3 separate regions of the Homo sapiens genome follow, and regions 1 and 2 are each linked to region 3. Evidence: promoter capture Hi-C in 16 types of primary human blood cells and fetal thymus (Javierre and others, 2016). All regions are on one chromosome and are shown on one strand. Each heading gives the region's core, a stretch centred on a gene start or on the middle of the fragment in contact. The rest is flanking DNA. Distances are from core to core; before and after follow the strand shown.

The links. The method cuts DNA at HindIII sites, captures the fragments that hold promoters and counts their contacts. A CHiCAGO score of 5 or more calls a contact.
Region 1: a fragment that was not itself captured here is called in contact with the fragment with the promoter of SEC24D in region 3 in 2 of 17 cell types (naive B cells and naive CD8 T cells); the score reaches 5.9 in naive B cells.
Region 2: a contact is called between a fragment that was not itself captured here and the fragment with the promoter of SEC24D in region 3, in 1 of 17 cell types (monocytes). The highest score is 6.9, in monocytes.

The regions. Positions count from the first base shown.
Region 1 is chr4:119,236,439-119,239,597 of GRCh38, reverse strand. It overlaps USP53 (ubiquitin specific peptidase 53), which reads right to left. Exons shown (of 19, transcript NM_001371395.1): 5 at 1-380. Among named protein-coding and RNA genes, the nearest start is that of USP53, 25 kb to the right of the region's middle. The HindIII fragment of the contact is 633 bases long and covers 1,376-2,008 here.
Region 2 is chr4:119,099,745-119,103,115 of GRCh38, reverse strand. LOC102723967 (a long non-coding RNA gene) reads right to left here and starts at 2,984. Exons shown (of 3, transcript XR_001741422.1): 1 at 2,946-2,984; 2 at 2,623-2,776. The HindIII fragment of the contact is 1,871 bases long and covers 694-2,564 here.
Region 3 is chr4:118,833,992-118,837,450 of GRCh38, reverse strand. It overlaps SEC24D (SEC24 homolog D, COPII component), which reads left to right and starts at 1,325. Exons shown (of 23, transcript NM_014822.4): 1 at 1,325-1,510. RefSeq lists enhancers at 1,163-1,457, 1,078-1,969 and a silencer at 1,162-1,651. The HindIII fragment of the contact is 6,235 bases long and covers 1-3,459 here.

The DNA of each region.
Region 1 (3,159 bases), core at 443-2,942, 400 kb before region 3:
AAAGACTCTGACAAGTAACAATAGGGTGCATAAACATTGAAGTTCTAAGCACTAAAAAAGAAAGCTATTTTAAACAAGGCGTTAAAGATGTTTATATGTGTTAAATTTTATGGGAGCTGTATAAGGTTAATATGAAAACGATTTTTTTTAATGGCTAAAAATACTGATGAACGAATCATCCCCTTTAATGCATAAGCCATTTGTCTTGATGCATAAAATATGTTAATAATACAAAAAGATGTAGAGTTGGCATTTGGCATGATTCCTTTGGTTGTTTGTTTTCCTTATGTTTTTTTAACAAGAAAGTTTTCTCTCTCTTTCCCAGGTGAAGTTATAAAAGGTGACTCCATATTTCATATCAATGTGACCTCAAAGCAAATCTACAAAAAAGAAAAAAAAGTTTAAATAAAAGCAAATGCAAATAAGAAAATTCTTAACTTTACCATTTGAACACAAATATTGAATATAGAATTAAAACTCGTCATAAAAAGGATTAGAACTGATAGCATTCTAATATAAATTTTTAAAAATTTCATCATTTACATTTTTAAAATATCAATGTGACATCAATCCCTACCTACCTTAAGCTCAATGTTCAAAAGATGGTTTCCTAAGGAAAATATTATCCAAAAATCTAGAATAAATTATATTTCAGCTGGTATGCTGTATCTGTCAACACTAAATTGCTCTAGAATATATTGTTATCCTTCTTACATAGAATCATATTTTTCCAAAAAAAGACAGATTTTATGTAAATGGATATGTATAATTATTCAAAAGAAACCTTTAAGTCATAAATAAATCTTGGTGAATTAAATTTCCATGGTATCAACAAACGCACACTCCTGATTAAAAGGACTTTAAATGTTAAACCTATGAATTAAAAACAAACAAATGCAAGAATACTTTGTTTTATAGCATTTTACTTTATCGCTCTTTGCAGATATACTGCCTTTTTAACAAACTGAAGGTGTGTGTCAACCCTGTAGCAAGCCAATCTACCAGCACCATTTTCCCAACAGCATATGCCCACTTCATGTCTATGTCACACTTCAGTAATTCTTTTTCATTATTACTGTATCTGTTATGCTGATCTGTGATAAGTTATCTTTGATGTTTCCATTGTAATTGTTTTCAGGCAATATGAACCACTCCCATATACGATAGCAAGCATAATCCATGAATGTGTGTATTCTGACTGCTCCACTGACCATCTGTTTCCCCAACTCTCTCTTTTCCTCAGGCCTCCCTACTCCCTGAGATGCAGCAGTACTGAAATGACGTCAGTTCATAACCCTACAATGGCCCCTAGGTGTTCAAGTAAAAGGAGTCGCATGTCTCTCATTTTCAGTCAAAAGCTGGAAATGACTAAGCTTGGTGAGGAAGGCATGTTGAAAGTTGAGACAGGCAGAAAGGTAGGCTTCCTACATCAAGCAGTAAGTAACCCAAGTTGTGAATGCAAAGGGAAAGCTCTTGAAGGAAATTAAAAGTGTTACTCAAATAAACACCTGAATGATAAGAAAGTGAAACTCCCTTATTGCTGATAGTGAGAAAATTTGAGTGGTCTGGATAGAAGATCCAACCAGTTACAACATTCCTTTAAGCCAAAGCCCAATCCAGAGCAAGGCCCTAACGCTCTTTAATTCTACGAAAGCTGAGAAAAAGAGGGTGAGGAAGCTAAAGAAAAGTAGGAAGCTAGCAGAGGTTGATTCAGGAGGTTTAAGGAAAGATGCCATCTCCATAACATAAAAATACAAGGTGAGTCAGCAAATGCTGATGGAGAAGCTACAGCAAATTATCCAGAAATCTAGCTAAGATAACTAATGAAAGTGGCTACACTAATTAACAGATTTTCAGTGTTGAAGAAACAGTCATCAACTGTTTGACAGATGAAGACTGTCATCTGTGGAAGAAACAGTTGAAGACTGACAGTGATATTGACAGATGGAAGAAGATGCCATCTAGGACATTCACAGTCAGAAAGAAGTCAATGCCTGGCTTCAAAGCTTCAAAGGACAGGCTGATTCTGTCTTTTTTTTTTTTAATTATTTTTTAATTTTTTCAAACACTTGTGTCGAGGGCTGACTTTCAATAGATAGCAGCGAGGGAGCCGCTCTGCTACATACAAAACCCCGACCCAGAAGCAGGTCATCTATGAATAGTTTAGCACCAGGTTCCCCACGAACATGCATTGCGTGACGGGCGAGGGGGCGGCCACCTTTCTGGCCACAGGCTGACTCTCTTATTAGGACATAATGCAGTTGTTGACTTCAAGTTGAAGCCAATGCTCACTTACCATTCTGAAAATTCTAGGGCCTTAAAAATCATGATAAATCTAGACTGACTGTATTCTACAAATGGAACAACAAAGCCTGGATGACAGCACATCTGTTTACAGCATGGTTTACTGAATATTTTAAGCTCACAGTTGAAGACCTACTGCTCAGAAAATATTCCTTTCAAAATATTACTGTTTATTGACAATGCCCCTGGTTACCCAAGATTTCTGATGGTGATGTACAAAGAGATTAATGTTGCTTTCATCCCTGCAATAACCATTCTGCAGCTCATGAATCAAGGAGTAATTTTGACTTTAAAGTCCCATTATTTAAGAAACACATTTCATAAGGCCACAGCTGCCACAGAAAGAGATTCCTCTGATGGAACTGGGCAAAGTAAACTGAAAACCTTCTGAAAAGGATTCACCATTCTAGATGCCATAAAGAACAATCAGGATTCACAAGAGGAGGGCAAAATATCAACATTACCAGGATATTTGGTTAATGATTCCAACACTTATGAATGACTCTGAGGGGCTCAAGACTTCAGTGGAGAAAGTAACTGGATGTAAACAGCAAGAGAACTAAAATTATAAGTGGAGTGTGAAGATGTGACTGAATTGCTGCAATCTCATGATAAAACTTGAACAGGGGAATTGCTTCTTACGGCTGAGCAAAGAAAGTGGTTTCTTGAGATGAAATCAACTTCTGGTGAAGATGCTGTGCACATTGTTGAAATGACAACAAAGGGTTTAGAACCATTACTGCAGTGCCAGGGTTCCACCCCAGTTCTGAAAGAAGATCTGTGGTGGGGAATATGCTATCAAACAGTGTCACATGCTACAGAGGAATCTTTGGTGAAAGGAAGAGTCAATGTGGC
Region 2 (3,371 bases), core at 380-2,879, 270 kb before region 3:
TGGGCATGGTGGTGGGCGCCTGTAATCCCAGCTACTCAGGAGGCTGAGGCAGGAGAATCGCTTGAACCTGGGAGGCGGAGGTTGCAGTGAGCCGAGATTGCGCCACTGCACTCCAGCCTGGGTGGCAGAGCCAGACTCCATCTCAAAAAACAAACAAAGTTTATTGTTCCTGAAGGACGAAGTCTTTGAACTTCAGGTAGTCATGAGTTGAGGTGTGGGTATAAGGAATGGGGACAATGTGCCCCACTGCCCTCTTGTTTTGAAACATAGCTTACAACCATTACCCATTCACTTGGTATAATGTAGTATTTCAGGATAGGCACGGTTAGTTCTGACTCACACAGGTATCACTGTTGTCTGGACATGAATGATTTCTAGAGTTCATTTCTCATGAAACATGTTTTTATTTGCAGGGCTTTAGAGCTTTGAAATTAATTCTACATTATACATTGATGATTCTTTTGTCAACTTTGTTTTTCTCTGTCTATTCCTAATTCTATCTACCATATAATTTCTGTATAGTAGTTGTTTCCATCACAATTTTTTTCTGTGAGCTGTGATTACATAAAATTAGCCTTGTTGACTTATACTTTGATATCTTTCTTGAGACAAGCCAGCGATGACCCCAGTTGGACTGGAACAACAGACCACTTTGTTGGTGTCTTTTAATACAGCCAATACTAATAGGAAGCTTTATCTTTCTTAAGTATCTTCTTTCGCTTCCCCTTCACAGAACCTTACAGGGGCCCCATGGATCAGCAATATTGCTTATTAAATATAATTTCAACTTTTAATAAGATTTTCTAAATTCTTCTGATCACTTCCTACTTTCCTTACATAATGACAGTCATTGCACATCAGAATACAGGCCCTCAGTCCAGCAATGTGATTTTCGTTCTTATGCTCAGGTCATATGATATTCGTCAAAGTGGTTGCTCCCTCTACTAGTCACTCTTGGAATGTACTCCCACCCCCACTCCAATGACATCTCTCACCTCCTCTAAAAATCATTTTCTGCTGTGGTGTTCTTATCTGCCCATGATAGTTATTATATTTATTGTCTTCAGAGAGTAGAAAACAGAAAAAGACCAAGAGGGTAACTGTAGTCAGTTTAATTCTGTCTCATCATCACTTCCCGTCAGCAATCCACATTCCCCCAACCATACATGACAACTTACTTGCATCTGTAACTTTATGTTTTGCCCTCTTTCCTATTACAAGAGGTGAATTGTCCATTTTTTTTTCTTTTTTTTGAGACAGGGTCTCACTCTGTCACCCAGGCAGGAATGAAATGGCACAATTACGGCTCACTGCAGCCACTATCTCCTGGGCTCAAGTGATCCTCCCACCTCAGCCTCCTAAGTAGCTGGGACTACAGGCATGTGCCACCATGCCTGGCTAATTTTTGTATTTTTTGTAGAGACAGAGTCTCCCTATGTTGCCCAGGCTGGTCTCAAACTCCTGGGTTCAAGAAGTCTGGCCACCTAGGCCTTCCAAAGCGCCAGGATTATAGGTGTGAGCCACTGCTCTAGGTCCATGGACTTTCTTCCTGCAGTTATCCTCTCTTTTTCTCCATTGCTGTTGTTTTTTCCTTCCTTTCTTCCTTCCTTCCTTCTTTTTTTTCTTTCTTTTCTTTTCTTTCTTTCTCTTTCTTTCTTTCTTTCTTTCTTTCTTTCTTTCTTTCTTTCCTCTCTCTCTCTTTCTTTCTTTCTTTTCTTTCTTTCTTCCTGATGGAGTCTCGCTGTGTAGCCCTGGCTGCAACCTCCGCCTACTGGGTAAGTGATTCTCCTGTCTCAAACCCCCGAGTAGCTGAGACTACAGGCGCCCACCACCATGCCGGGCTAATTTGTGTATTTTTAGTAGTAGAGACAGGGATTTCACCATGTTAGCCAGGCTGGTCTTGAACTCCTGACCTCAGGTGATCCGCCTGCCTCGTCCTCCCAAAGTGTTAGGATTACAGGCATGAACCACTGCACCCAGCCCTGTTTTCTACTGGAGTTTTTCCATCATCATAGAAACATGCTATGCTTTTTTTCTCACATCAAACAAAAGCAAAATACCTTGCAAATAGAGACAAGCACAATAAAACACCTTCTGTGGTCCTTTTCTTTGCTCCCTTTTAACATAAAAATTTGTCTACACTTGCTTTCTTCAGTTTCTCTGTACTGCTCCATGGAAACTGTTTATTGTCATGGTCACTAAGTTGCTTAAGCAAGAATCTTTGAAGTCATCCTGGACTTCCTTCTTTCCTTTGCACTCCACAAACTATGGCTTACAGGACAAATTGGCCTGTCATGTGTTTCAGTAAATAAAGTTTTATTGGAACACAGTCATGGCCACATGTTTGTCTTTCTGTGACAACTTTTGCATTACAATGGCAGAGTTCAGACGTCCTAATGGGGACTGCATGGCCCTCAAAGCCTAAAATACTTACTATTTGGCTTGTTATAGAAAAAGTTGGCCAGCCCCTACACTAAAATATAAATCTTACAAAGGAAAGTGCTTTGTTTTGTTCCCTGCTATATCTCCAGTGCCTAGAAGAATACCTGGCACTTAGCAAAGCTTAACAAATACTTGCGGCAGAAAGGAAAAAAGAAAGAATGAATAAGTAGTCTACGTCACCATCTTGTTCTTTACTCTCTCTTATTCAATCTTTGTCGGTTCTCATTGTCCTTTCTCCATTTTCCATAAACTCTCTCCTCGGATTTGTTTCTTCCATTAAGCTTTTTCTTCATGCTCATCAAATTTCCAACAGGAGGAAAAGTCCTAAAAATTGCTAAACAAATTTTGGAAATACGAAGCTTAAGTTAGAGAAATTTTTCCTTTGGCAATAGTATTAAAAATGTGTTCATCAATGGGAACACATGGACATAGGGAGGGGAACATCACACACAGGGGCCTGTCGGGGGAGGGGGCTAGGGGAGGGATAGCATTAGGAGAAATACCTAATGTAGATGATGGGTTGATGGGTGCAGCAAACCACCATGGCGCGTGTATACCTGTGTAACAGACCTGCACGTTCTGCACATGTATCCCAGAACTTAAAGCATGATTTTTAAAGAAGTGTTCATTTTTTCTTTGCTAGTGTCTGCATTGTTGAGTTCATTTTGGAGAGAAGACTGTCAAGAGAGAAATGATATTTCTTTTAATAGGTACTCTTGGCAATTTTTGCTAATAATTTTAACATTTCTTTTACCACATGAAGTTTGATTTCTATAGAGTAATCCCCTTTTATGTTGTGTTGATGGGCATTTTTTATTATTGATATATAATATGTTTACCCTGTCTTCAGTTTTTGCTCATGAGACTTTATCCAAAAACTAAACTCAACTGGCACATGCAGTTCTTTTGATTTCACAACTTACCCATGC
Region 3 (3,459 bases), core at 76-2,575:
CTGATCAGTGTTGAAGCTGGATGTAGGCCAGATATCTTACCTTAAAATCTTTTTTTCTTTTTCTTGAGACAGGGTCTCACTCTGTTGCCCACGCTGGAACGCAGTGGTGTGATCATAGCTCACTGCCTCCTGGCCTCAAGCAATCCTCCCTGCTTGGCCTCCCAAAGTGCTGGGATAACAGGTGTGAGCCACTGTGCCTTGCCCCATGCCTTAAAAACTTTTAAGAGTGGGATAAATGGACCATATATCTTTACTGCTAAAATGACTTAAAATTCCTGCACAATTCATGTAGCATTTCGGGAGTAGCAACATCCCCATGTACGTTTTTACCTAGGCAGTTCATCAGTAAAGGTATTTGTCAAGTGGCTTTCTTGTAGCCGGGAAGAAAGTGCATGTTAAAAACAACAACACCGGGCTGGTTTTTACTTTGTAAGTTTGAGCAAAGTGGTAGCTATACCAAACCTGGGAGTGGCTGAATGTCTTTCTATTTAGCAGTGAAAGATGATAGGAAACCAGCCAGATGGTCCTGATTTTAGGGTGAGATAGAGAGGTAAGCTCCAGATCTCATATAGGTTGCCTTTATTTCTGAGCTGTTTCTCACAGGACGGTGAGCTAAACGCTGGGTGCTTTTCCATGCAGAGATTCCTGTTTGGGGCTGGGATCAGCCATCCTACTTCACAAACAAGGAATATGCGGAAGAAGGAGTATACACAACGCTAACAACCCCAATATCAATGGAAACCCCACTTCCCACACTTTTCCTTTGGGACATCTCCCCCACCCCCCACTCCTCCCGCGTTACACGTTGCCAGGCTGCTTTGGGCGTTCCTTCCTCTGTAGTGCATTGCACGGGTACGTCATCAAATGTGCGTGTACACGTGCCAGATTCGCCTTTAAACGGTAATCTCCCCTAGGTCCAGATCGTGTACTTTCCCGTATGTAACGGTAGTGCAGTACCTGAACTATTAGTTATTTAAGTAATACGTAATGAATGAAGAGCTGAAACTGCAACCTGTTGATGGAAGAATGAATGAACGCGCTCCCCTCCTTCCTGCGGGGCTGCGCCGAGAAAATACGGTTCTGATTTAGCCACGACGTTAAAGGCTTTGACCTGTAGGGGGAGGGGAAAGAAAAGACGGGAAAAAGAAAACCAAAAAACAAAAAACCGGAAAAAGGGAAAAAGCGAAAAGGGGGAGGTCGCTCGGCCGCTCGCAGGCTCAGCCCGGTGGCCCCGCCCCGCGGCGGCCGGTGGCTGTGCGCGTGCGCAGGCGGGAGCGCGGCGGCTGGTCCAAGCCCGGCGCTGGGGGCGCGCAGCCGAGAAAGGGTTTGACGTGGCAGTTCCCAGCCCAGCTGCAACTCCGAGCGTGAGTCCAGGCTAAGGGGACGCCGGCCGGGGAAGAGGCGCGGCGGGAGAAGCGACCGCAGCGGGAGCCCGGCCACCGAGGGCTGCCGGCACTAGGCGCAGAGCCGCCAGCGCTCGGAAGCCCGCGGGGTGCGGGAGCGGGAACAGGTAAAGCCTCCCACCCGCGGACGCCTTCATGCGGGACAGCCCTGCCCAGGCACAGCGGAGCGGGTTGCGGCGCCCGGCCCGGGGACGCGGCGGGAGGCCGGGTGCTCACCTGAGGCAGTGGCGGCGGGAGGAGAACTCATTCTTTGTTCTTTAGCCTTCTAGTGCAGTTTAATAGTGGGGCCGGCGGGATGGGGGAGCAGGAGGTGGGCGTGGGCATTTTTTACCCGCCCCCACCTTTTGCCTTGGGATGCAGGAACTGCCTTGTTAGGATCCTCAGTGGCCACCATTCGAGTGTCATTGCCAGCGGTTTTCTCATCTCCTTATCAACTTAATTTCCTTTTTTGAAGGAAGGAAATGTTAGAAATATTCATGGTAAAAATGGCAACTATATCTTGAAGCCTCGGGACATCCGAATAGTGAAACTGATCTGGCCAAATACGAACTTGTTCCAGGGTTAGAAGTGCACCTTGGCTAGAGTTGCTGGGTGACAGTGAGCCAGGGGGCCGTTCTGGGGTTGGGGCTCCCCAGATTTTGATCCTAGGCCTGCTTATACCAAGTGGCTTTCTGCCGTGTCGCCGCTTGAAGCTGAGTCAGGTTTCTTTAACTTGGTGCTCTGTGTGAGGAAGTTTGACGTGGCAAACTGGGTTGCGTGAGGAAGCTGATTCCTCTGAGGACCAGTTCAGAGGGAACTGGCTGCTTCCTGTTCTTTGGAGTGACCATCTCAGCCTCTCTTTTCTGTCACTCAGCAACAGGCTGCTACTTAGGTGTGTTCGTGCCGACTTCCTAAGTGCTCTTGGTTGGATGAGCTTGACCAGCGCTCAGGCTGCCACGTCTCTCTCTGCTAAGTGGGAGGAGGAAAAAGGGGTTGTCAGAAACAAAGTGGACCAGAAGGCCTTTGCCTGCCTCTCTCCTCTTTTTCAGTTCTCCCCTTCCCAGGAGAAGGAAATGATCTCATAATATTTTTACATGGTTGCTTTTATTTTGGAAACTTATAGTTTAATATGGAAACAAAATCAAATCACAAATTTTAGGCTTCAAATTTTTAATTTGAAATGTTATTTCTTGAATATAGACAGATTCTAAGTCTTAGCAGGTATCACTGATCTCTTATCTTAAATTGTAGCAAATAAAAGAACAAAAGGAAGAATATGCTTGTATGGGGCAAATAAACTGGAGATAAATTGTAGAATCAGTGGAAATCTGGAAAGGCTTCATTTTCTAAAAGAAGGAACTGAGGCTTAGAGAGGTTCTTCAGCTCATTCCATGTCACACAGTTAAGTATGGCAGACATAGAATGGAAACCCACTTCTCTTGCATTCAAAGCATTTTCTGTCGTATTTAATTTTTTTTTTTAAATCATCAGTCCTATGAAATATCTCTTATTTTGTTAAAACCTGGAAAAAATAGAAAATTTAAAGCAAATTTGGGTTCTGATTAGAATCAAGATTTAAAAAAAATCAAGATGAGTCTGTTATATTTGTGATGTGTGTGCCTACACACTTACAAAATTACACTTTTTTTCCTTAGTCCCCTAAATATAGGTGCATATGTTCTTAGAGATGTGATATGATTTAAATTAGAAAGAAATTCTGTCGCCTTTGAAAAACCACTGACAACACTCAAGTGGTTATAGTGACCACCTGGCTCGGTCAAATTATGACTCATAAAATAAGCCCATTATCAACGTTGTCTGTTGCTATGTTTGTTGGACTATGATTTCTCTTTGTCCTAATGACTAGATTAAAATAATTAATTAGATGAGCACTAAAAAGACGTAAGTCATAAAACATCTGATTGCAGGCTACTGGCAGTTATGGTGGTCAGTCAATTGAATGGCATGGTGTGCTCTGTGCTGAAATGTGACCATGGAAACCAAAAGCACAAAATCATAGGAACACTATGAGAGACTATCTGTGAGATGCTTCAGGCTTCCATTAAAAAAGTGGTTG